Regions from separate parts of the Homo sapiens genome. Here region 2 is linked to region 1. The links are contacts of gene promoters, found by promoter capture Hi-C in blood cells and fetal thymus (Javierre and others, 2016). All regions are on one chromosome and are shown on one strand. The core of a region is centred on a gene start or on the middle of the fragment in contact, and the rest is flanking DNA. Distances in the headings are between cores, read along the strand shown.

Region 1 (5,417 bases), core at 1,284-3,783:
AATACTAGGTGTATATCATCCTATACAAAAATAAGCATTACCTAAATAAAAGTAGCATATTATTTTTTTCCTAGTGCTATATATTTATCCCAGTGGAAACTGAAATAAAAAGGTGAGCTCCAAACTGAAATCATTCTGAAAAGCTAAATTTGGACCACAGACATTGTTATTCCAAAGTCAAGAGAAATCAAAAATAAACCAAAAAAAAGTCTGGTTGTCAGTGATACATAAGTGTACCTTGAGCATTAAGTAGCACTTCCTCCTTTCCAAAACAATTCATGTACAAAGAATGACTTCTTTTACTTACATTTAGTCTTCTGGGTGGAGGTGGTTCAGAAGGATTGCAGAGTACATTTGAACAGGGGGGACATTTGGTTTCATCTATCATCATGAAGGTGTCATAGACACCATCCCCCAACCTAGTTAAAAGGATTACAGACAAAATCTGTCAGGAACTGAAGAATATAGAATCCTATGTCTTAACTGCTTCATATCTGCTACAAGGAACAGTAATAGAAATAAATGTCTACACTACATTTTGGCACTGAATACAAACAACTGGGGTATTTGGAAGAGGTACAGAGGAAATCCAACTTTTGTTTTTCAAGGACAGCATTTCTAGGTTTGTATTTTAAAACAGTTGAAACAAGTCCTTCTGAATGTTGTTAAACACAATAAGGACTATCAGAAGGATCTCATAATAACTTACTACTTGAAAATAAAGGCTAGTTTGAAACTGAAGCTCACAGAGAAAAAAACAGACCAGAAAAAACTAACAGAGGTAATAGTTTCTCAAGTCAGAGACTTGGATTCTAATCTCAGCTCTAACACTGGCTGTGCTACCTTCTCCTCTGAGCCTGTCTTCCCCAGTGCTACCTTCTCCTCTGAGCCTGTCTTCCCCATGTTAATGGGAAGACTAGCTCCAGTCTTCACACTTCTGGGTCTTACAGGCAAGAAATAAAAGGCCTTTTTAAGGCTGTCTTCTCTTTATTCATTTACTTACTTACCTACTTACATCTACCTAACCTGCAGAAAAATACAGTAAGTACTACAGCAAACGCTAAAAGGATGCTCTAAATTATAAAATGTATTGAATTTACTTCTCTTTCCACTTCATTTTCTGGTGGATGGTGGAGGCAAAATTCTAAATGATTAAGGATCACTTCTCTGTTCTTTAACACTGTGGCTCCACCACTGTAAGGGAACACAAAAGACGGAGAGGATTTATTTAATCCACAAGATGGCCCTGAATAATGTATTTCATCTGCTACCAAGAACACGGATTTCCCAGTTACACACATCAGCATTTCATTGTATCATTTTACATGATACACTATGAATATAACAATGATGATGTTGCAGAGGAATAATTTTTTAACGTCTTTTAAAATATCCTGGAATATTCTGGTCACCTTAAAAACTGTTTTGTGAAATTCATTCTAGAGTTTTCTTTATAGATGTGTTATAAAAATATAAAGGGAAAAAAACCGCTACAAATATTTTTGGAATGCTCTTTTTAAAAACATGCTCACATTCTGATAGAATTATTTATATTTTTAACAGGGAATGGCTTCACCAACAGAAACCAAATATTCTGGATGTGACTGACCCTTTGCCATAAGCCTGATAAAACAAACCAGGATAGGCGTCCACATATATAAAGAAAAAGAAAACGTGCAAAATTGCCTAGTGACTAACAGCCAGAGGAAATTAACAAGAGTCTGCATGCAAATAAAGCGGGGAGCAAGGGTCTCTTCTCTCCATTTAGGTGTAAAATACAACGCAAGGTGGGGAATCTCTCAAAATAGGATCCGGAGAAAGCCGTACCCAGCATAGCCCATAACCTGTACATTCGAAGCTAGACCGCACCCCTCACAGCAAACCCCAAGAGTTCAGCCGTTGGTTATCCGCTCTAAGCAACAGGGCTTCTTTCCAAGGTATTGCTCCCGGGCTCCCCCCCTTTAATAAAAAGCCCCACAAAAAGTCCTAGATTTTCGTAATCCCTTAACATATACCCCGATCTAGGGTTTCAGAGGGAATCCAGGGGTGGAAATTCTTCTTGCTCTAACTCCGCTCTAGCCCCGTCCCCCGCGCCCGGTGAGACAGGGATGGGGGGAGGGGGCCCTGATAGAGAGGAGGTGGGGGCGGTCCCGGGGAGGCAGTCAGACCCCTGCCCTCGTCCCTCCTACTGAGGGCTCACTCTACCTCCTCCCCACCCCCAAGCTTCGCTTGCCAGCGCCAGCCGCTCCCTGTGGCGCCTCCAGCCCGTTACCCCGTGGCGCCGTTACCTCCGCTGCTGGGGCGGGAGCCCGGCCCCAGGCGGCCCCGCATCCTTCCGCCCAGGCCCACGAGCTGTGCCTCCCATCTCCTAGCTCGGGACCCCGCGCGGGGAGAGGCGCCAGTTGGGGGTCCGGTCGGCCACGCCACCTACGCCGGGACGGCTGCCTCCGCGGCGCGACGCTCCCACGGGTACTCTCGACCAGACACTGCAGCTCAGCGCACTTTCGCTCCCGACTGGCCCCGGCTGGGAAGTGGGGAGACGCAGCTCCAGGGGCGGGAGGGGGAGCGGTCTGGTCGCCTAGCAACCGCGGCACGCCCCCGGGAAACGCCTCGGCGCAGCTACGGGCTGACGCACAGGGGCGGGGCCCGTGGCCGGTAAAGGCCACGCGGCGCTCCTAGCGGGTGCTAGTACTGGCGCGGGAGGCGGGAGGTTGGAGGCGAGGAGCTCGCGGCCTAGGCTGTTTGGGTCCCTGGCGCGAGCTGTAGACGGAGAGAGGGGTCCGGAGAAGGAGGGGTGAAAGTAGCAGTTAGCCCGCGATCTCAGAAGGGCTGCCCGCCCCTCACGGTCCCTTAATAGCACGTTGCGTCCTGGAAGTTCTAAAACGTCCCGCTTCAATATGAATTTTAAATTAGTGAAAACATATGTGTATTGTTTTAGGCTTTCCCACCGCGGGGACGGCCCTCCGGGGGTTGGTGAGTTACATAAGAAAGCAATAATAATAAACCCATTTATTGACACGATGCTTCCATTTATGAACATTTGATCTCAGTAACGGAGGTACCCGACGACTTTCGTCTTTTACAGACTTAGCTGGGATGCAGAATAGAAGCTGGGCCTTTGTCTGACTACCCTGCAACAGTCAGCCACAGACGGGAAGGCAGCGCAGGAAACTGAGGCCAAAGGAGCCGCGCTTCCTCATGAGCATGAAGCGGCAAAGCCTGAACTAGAAGCTTCTAACGCCTAACCGTCCTCTTGCCGCACCAGGACCTACCTCTGCAAGGCCCTTCCTGACTTTTTCCTTAGAATGTGTGTATATGTGTCTTTTTCCTTTTCTGATGCTAAGACACCTCAGAAACACCAATGTTAAGCAGATTTCCATCGTTGGAGGTTAAAACACCCGAATACAAGTGTTTTCTTGAGTGTGGCATCTGGTCAGATGTTTTATGGGTTGGTTTGTTTTTAAAAAAAAAAAATTTCCTGTTAGATGGGTGGTAAGAACCAGTCAGAGTTTGTAAACCCACCAAGCACGAGGCGGTCGGACCGTCCAGATTCTGGAGTCCAGAAGACACCAAACGTTCTCAGAATGCCGAACGCGGGCGCCACCTGGTGGGACTAGAACGCTTATTGTCCCAAATCAGCATAGCACACAGTTCCCATAAATCTTAAAAATTCCCATCCAAGGCTCATTTCCGTGTGACTAAAAGTCATATTCTCTGTTCTCGTGACTCCAAGTAAAAATGTCCCTAAAGAGCCAAAGTATCTTCACTGTATAAACTAATAATCTATTGGTTTGGGGAATTTTATTTTTTGTGATCAATGTTACTTTAGCCTTTCTATGATATACATATAAATAAAAAAGTTTTCTTCCATGATGATTTTTTAAAGTTTATTTTATAAATAAACTTTTTCTTTTTGTCTCTCCCTTCCCCCACTTTGCAACCAGAGCAATTCTGCTTTCACAGGGGTTTGTATTTGGGCTCTTACGAAGCTTTTGTTTGAAGAAAGAGTTCCATGGCAACGCAAAGATTGGACGAGGTTACTGTTGAAGTCCCTTCCAGCTCTAAGATTGCAAAATTCTATTAAATAATCCCCGTTCTCAGTACTTATGTAGACACCTCAGACCACTTTACTGCCCTCCCTAAACAGTTGAATGAGACTTGCCCCCACATGATTTCTTACCTCATTCTGAATCACTGCTCGTGAGAGGATTGCATCCGCAGTCTGTGCTTAAGACACATCTTCCAGAGCCAAGTGGAAGGGTTCCTGCTCCCTTTCTTGCTCCTAAGGTGGGAAATACAGAGGCCGCCTTTGTCTTTCGCCTATTGTTCCCATGGTCAAGGGAAAGAGGACTCCTCGAGGGTGCTGGAGCTTCATAAATCTCTGACCTTAGTGACCCAATGTTTCTTCAAAGATCCCCTGTATGATGGGGTTAACGTCCCATAAGGGATCTGGCAGGAGCCTCCACACCCCTGCTGAGCGCTGCCCTGTCCCCTCCAGCTCCCAAGCAGCTTCCACATCATTCATGCCCTTTCTTCCCCTCCAAAGCCTCATTCAAGAGTAGTTTAAAATCACCATTATCATTCTCCATGCAGTTAAAGTCAGATTTACCCACCATGAATTAGCCAAAAGTCATATAAGATGCATGTCTGTCCTTTGAAGCCAATTCCAAGACATCTGCAAAATAAGGTACCTGCAAGTTCTAATACATTGACTAAGGAAATAAACAACAGTAAAAAAGATGCAACTATTCCAGGATCTTAAAAACCCACTGGGACATTCACAATGTGATCAAAGTTTCAAATGCACAGATTAAGAAAACATCCCCGTGGCCACATTTACCTGGAATTTTGTGATAAAATAGCTGTTAGTAGGTTATGTTAAGTTTGGACAAGTTTCATTGACATTTCTGTACAGCAAAATGTGCCATAATGCCTACTGTGACATGTGCATCACAGAATTGGAAAATATTTTTTAAAAATCACTGGAGAGAACCAGTGAAACTTACTTTTTTCCTCAAGCTATGTTAACCTCAAATTGACCCGTGTTCCTGAAATGTATACTTGCTATTTTTTTCAGAAACACTGAAATCTAGCTCACTGGAACACTAAAGCCATGGCTTATTTTTCTGGAGCCTCAGAAAACTGTCTCTCTTCTATACCTCAGGCATCTCCTGTTCTTATGCCCTCCCCTCTCCACCAAGATTTGAAAAATGCCCCTTATTAACAAAGCAAACAAAAGCCATGCCCGCAGTGCTGTAGTACAGCTACAACTAAGACACACTTAGTTCTGTGTCTCCTAAACCCTAAAGGTTGTCCTTATTATCACAAACTCTTCACCTATTTTTCTTTTCCAAAACTTTTGCCATCTTTTTCCACTTGTTCCTCCTAAGTCAGCGTGACCAGTTCCACCTATAGCC
Region 2 (5,417 bases), core at 1,979-4,478, 170 kb before region 1:
TATGACTATAGCATGGTGAGTAGAGGATAGTGTGGCTGGGCTGGGAATAACTGCAGAGGTGGAATCAGGCAAGGTCTTGAAGGTCATAGTAAGGAACTTGAGTTGACTCTACATGCCATAGGATATGGTTTGGCTGTATCTCCACCCAAATCTCATCTTGAATTGTAGTTCCCATAATTCCCACATGTCATGGGAGGGACCTGGTGGGAGGTAATTCAATTATGGGAGCAGTTACCCCCATGCTGCTGTTCTCGTAATAGTGGGTGAGTTCTCATGAGATCTGCTGGTTTTGTAAGGGGCTTTTCCCTCTTTGCTCAGCACTTCTTCCTGCCACCATATGAAGAAGGACATGTTTGCTTCCACTTATGCCATGATTGTAAGTTTCCTGAGGCCTCCCCAGCCCTGCAGGACTGTGAGTCCATTAAACCTCTTTCCTTTATAAATTACCCAGTCTTGGGTATGTTTTTATAGCAGTGGGAGAACGAACTAATACCCATAAGAAGCTTTAAAATTATTTTAAGCAAGGAAGTGACATGATCTGGTTTACTAGACCATTGGATGACATGTACAAAATGGCTTAGAAGGGTTGAGAGTGGAAGAGACAGGCAACTTAATAGGCTGTGACAGTGGTCCGGATAAAATATGATATTGACTTGGACTAACACGATACCAGATTGATAGTGGAAAGGGGACCAAATCGTAATATATTTCAGAGGTAGAATGATAGGACTGGGTGATAATTTGTACCAACTCTAATTTATCCTTATTGTGATACATTTTTTACTGGCTTGCTCAGGGAGAGTTCCGGGAATTGTATTTTCCGAGTGCATACGTTATGAGTGACAATTTACCTAGGCATAGAATTCTCAGGTCACACAACTTCTTTCCTTCACAGATTAAAATACTTTGTTTCATTGTCTTCTCACATTTAGAGTTATGGAAAATAAATCTGAAAAATGCTTGACTTGTTTTCTCCCTGCCTATTTATTTATTGAGTTTTTGTAGTATTTTAGATGTAAAAGTTCTACCTGAATATATTTCAGAGTAGTAGCTCTTTTCTATCTGCCAATGTGATGTTATTTAGCCTACCTAGCATTCATCCCCCTTTCTTCTGAAAGTAGCAACCCCATTTTCCTCTGGGAAATGATATTTCCCTTATTTGCAGTCCATATGACTCTAGGTAAAGCTGACCCATCCTCTCATCCCAGGAGTGGGTGTGTGCTGCCGGTGAAATTAAGGCAACAACGCTTCTCAATTGCATAGATTGATTCAAGGGTGAGTACATGACCCAAGCCAAGCCAATCAAAATCAACGAGGATTAACCCAAGGTTAATGGTACATGTATTAGAACTCTCTTTTCCACTGGGATTGGTAAACTGGGAGAATGTGAGTCTGGAGATACTGAATGTCACCCTACAGGAACAACCCTCCCAAGAATGATGGCAACCCAGAAAAAAGCAAGAGCAGCAGGGATGGATTCCTAGTGAACCCTTGGACTTCATTAAGTGAGCCAGCAAAATTCCTTTTTTGTTTAAGCTGGTTTGAACTGAGCCTGACACGATCCAGACTCCTGATGAATACAGTAAGCGCATTCAGTTTTTAAAATAAGATTTTACTTAAAGCCATTATATTTTCTACATATGGCTTCTGCTCCAAAAGAATCTGTTCATTATCTTTAGGAACTCCTGTTATGTGTAGGTTAGCTCTTTGATATCTGTATTTCACGTTTACTCTATTCTTTCATTTTCATTTCTTTATCTTTTGCTTTTGTGTTCTAGGAAATTTATCTTCAGTTTGCCTTTTACTCATTAATTCAGTTTTCTGCAGTGTCCATTTGTAAGCTATGGCTTCCATTTTGGAGTTTAATTCAATAACTGTGTTTTCCAGCCTGATAAAATATTTCTTCCATTTGGATTGTTTCCTTTTTATAATGGCTTGCTCTAGTCACACAGATGTAAATTGTTTTAGCATCTAGCATATGGCATTCTTTGATAAACAGAAAAAAGTGAATGAGGTTATTATTCATTTTTCAGCTCAATGATTTTCCTGAATCTATCACTTAACTCCCCTTAGCCTGCTTTGTCTTTATAGCCTCTACCACCTGGTATATATCTGTATCAAGACCTAGAGCAATGGCTGCACAAGTTGGCACTAAAATCTATTTATTGGACATGTAAACGGATCAGTACAGATGTGTTTTCACTCTTAATTTGCTCAAAGTCCCATTGAGAAGGTAAAACTAGCACAAAAAGGTAAATAACCATCCCAGGCAGCTAACTGAGAGCTATCAGAAACACATACATGACTAATAGCTAAATAAATTGTGCCGATACAGGTGTGTACTCTAGAAGCAGAGCCAGGTATGCAGACAGCAGGTAGCAGGTGATCATTTAGTGCTTGAATGATCAGAACAGTGTCCACAGAGGATCCAAGGATTGAAAGGAACTTCAAAGAAGGGTATGATTTAGAAAGGAAGGAGTCTGGTGGATTCTTCTAAAGAGCATTTCTCTGGGATTCAGATAATTTCACCCATGCAGTTAGCACCCATTCTATCCTTGAAAGATACAGCTGCTCTTCCTATAAGGTAAGAGAATTTCAGGTTTGAACAGAGAATTTTAGATTGAAAAATTCAAGCCCATTTTCTATTCTTCCACCCGCAAACAAAGGTGCGGAAAGCAGTTGAGGAAACAGGCTGAGGTGAGTTTCCTTGAAGCCTTGCTCTCTTGCATCTCTGTTTGATCCCTGGGTCATTCCCTCAGGCATCTCTGGTCAGAAACACTTTTAAACCCCAAATCTCATTCTCACTGGGTTTGCATTGTACCTGGAAAGATGCTGACACCAATAAAAGCTTGTTGCTTAAAGACACAGCCTATGACTCACACAATGCACACTTTATACACCCTAATTCCTTCCATCTGTAGTAACTTTCAGCTTCTCATTACCTAAATTATTTCAGTGCACTCAACCTGGGGGTTATTGTCATATAGGGAATCAAATGAGGTGCCAGAAACAGATAAAAATCAAGAAAACAACAATTTGAAAAGGTTATCATTGGCATCAGGGAATGTCTGTGTTGGAAAGGATCTCCAGGTTCATTAGCCCCCACTCCCAGCACAGGAACCCTCTTTGTCATGACTCGGACAGATGTTATCCAATTCTGCTTCATGACTTTCAAGACCTGGGTGCCACATTCTGCAGTTGTCATCTGCAAACTTGATAGGCAGGTGAATGTGGCAAGCAACCCATATTTAAATATACCTGAAGCCCTCCTGGAATTTACACAGCTACATCTTTCCCTGTACTGCCCTGCAAGAAGCGTGAGAGAAGAAGCTCTTCTGAGCCTCCTGCCTGTTACAGAGAGCAAGAAAGGGAAGGGAAGAGACAGGGCGAAGAGAGAAAGGATTACTTGATATTGTAGTGTTCAAGCTGGAATAATTTTCCCTCCCACCTTGCTGGAGTGCTTTCCAAGTGCTATTTCCTAGAGCAATGCCAGATTAGTTGTTCCAGAATTCCCAGGGGGCTTTGCACAGAGTCCCAGACCCTGTCCCTGAGAGTTGAATTTTGTACATCTGGGATGAAGCCTGGGCATCTCTATTTGTTAAAGCTTAGGATTATTTTGAAGTGCAGTCAGTTTGAAAGTCACTTTATTAGAGGGCTCTGGACTAGGTCACCCCATTCCTGGTGGTTGAAAAACCTCATTGCAAGCAGATCACTCCTATGTCCTCCAGCAGTTTTCTGTAAGCATGTTTTTGTGTTGCTGAAGGCAGCCCCATCAGCCCCCAGGGGAATAATCCTTTCCTGTTCTCTCCAGCCATGCTCTGTAGGATCACCTGAGGCCTGTGTCTGGGCCTCTTTATCGCAGCACAGTACAAGCATCCAGCTTGTACTCTTTGTTGTGGGCTGGCCAAGATGCTGACAGGAACAAAAATGACTTGTTTTTGAGAGTAAAGATACAAGCTTTGACTCAGATGACGCACACATGTTCATGGAGGGAGACTCTCACATCCGACCTACCTTCTTCCGTCCACAGAGAGTCACGTTGCTACTCTAACCACATCACTAATTCCGAAAGATGGGGACTCCTACACAGGGCCTCCAGGTCAATGCCTCTGATTAGGGCAGGGAACTGGAAGGCATCCAACCCCGACTTCCTGGCACCCCAAGTTCTCTCAGCAGCAACAGCGAAAGCCCATGGATGTAACTGCATTACAGAAGCCAAGGCCCTCAATGTGTAGACTCTCTGGGGTGCTATTTTAAAAGGCAGACTCTCAAGCCCCACAAAAAGATGTTTTGAAGATTGGAGTGAGGCCAGAAAATCCACCTTTTGAGCAAGCAGGACTAGGGAATTCTGAGTAAGACTAGTATTTGAACTTTACCCATTTGGGACTGAACCTCAAAGGAAAAAAGGGATCTGGAAAAGGAAATGACGTCCCCCTCGCCCTTCCAGGGCCACAGCTGCTTCTGTTCTTGAGATATTGGCCAGGCCCCTTATTTCTTTGACATTCCCCTTGCTTTCCTGTCCCCTCGTCTTCCTTAACAGTCCTTCTTATCTGCCAGAAGATTGGTCTTTCTTTAAGGCTAGCAGTTAGCCTTGATTGGGGATCCAGTTCTATACATGTGGGCATAGAGGACAGAGCAAGAAGACAGGACAAGTGAGCAGAACTATACAGGGAAGGGAGGGACAGTGTTGGAAGAGAAGCCCAGGCTTGGAACTTGCCCATGGCAAAAAAAAAAGAAAAAAAAAATTGAAAATTTGTACCCTCATTATGTCACCAGGAATTGAAATTAAGTATGACTCACGATTTACCCATGAAGCTCTTTCCCAATTAGTCTGGGTTGTGTCACCAAAAGACCTGAATTTAAGTCATGACTCCATCACTTATTGGCTTCGTGATCTTGGGAAAATTATTGAACTCTCTGACATTTAGTTTCCTTATCTGTAAAATAGGGGTAATCGCTTGATAAAGGTGCTGTTCGTTTTGATGAGGTAATATATAAAAATGCTTAGCCCAGGTTTTGGTACATGGAAGGCAGAAAAAAAAACCACCCAGATATTATGAATAATATAATTCTGTCATGTACACCTTTCCTCTCACAACCTACTGACTTACTGTAGGCACCAGGCAACCTGAATTACTAGGTGTTCTCTAGGGCCCCAATAAGCCATGTGTTTTAAAGTCTAATGGAATGGTCTAATCCCATCTCCATCACCAACTCATAAGCTGTGTGACCTTCCTTCCTGGGCCTCTGTTCCCTTCTCTATGGATCAGTGCCAATACATCAAGTTTCTGCAAAGGCCTGGTGCATTCACTGATGCACACAAGGAGCCCAGGACCATGCTGGGAGCCCCCTGTGCTGCAGCCTCCCCTTCCCCTCCTTTCCTGCAAGCTCCCATGTTTGTCCATGCCTTTCTATGG

Evidence for each region. Contacts are between HindIII fragments. The CHiCAGO score rates a contact against its expected background, and 5 or more counts as called.
Region 2: a fragment that was not itself captured here is called in contact with the fragment with the promoter of DYRK3 in region 1 in 1 of 17 cell types (M2 macrophages); the score reaches 5.2 in M2 macrophages.

Annotation. Positions count from the first base shown.
Region 1 is chr1:206,632,652-206,638,068 of GRCh38, reverse strand. DYRK3 (dual specificity tyrosine phosphorylation regulated kinase 3) reads right to left here and starts at 2,533. Exons shown (of 3, transcript NM_003582.4): 1 at 2,289-2,533; 2 at 308-419. The coding sequence starts at 2,365. DYRK3-AS1 (DYRK3 antisense RNA 1) reads left to right here and starts at 2,401. Exons shown (of 2, transcript NR_183645.1): 1 at 2,401-2,469; 2 at 3,086-3,873. RefSeq lists silencers at 2,094-2,203, 2,254-2,673. The HindIII fragment of the contact is 1,008 bases long and covers 2,226-3,233 here.
Region 2 is chr1:206,801,995-206,807,411 of GRCh38, reverse strand. All of the region lies in intron 2 of IL19 (interleukin 19), which reads right to left. Among named protein-coding and RNA genes, the nearest start is that of IL10, 32 kb to the right of the region's middle. RefSeq lists an enhancer at 4,185-4,234. The HindIII fragment of the contact is 756 bases long and covers 2,851-3,606 here.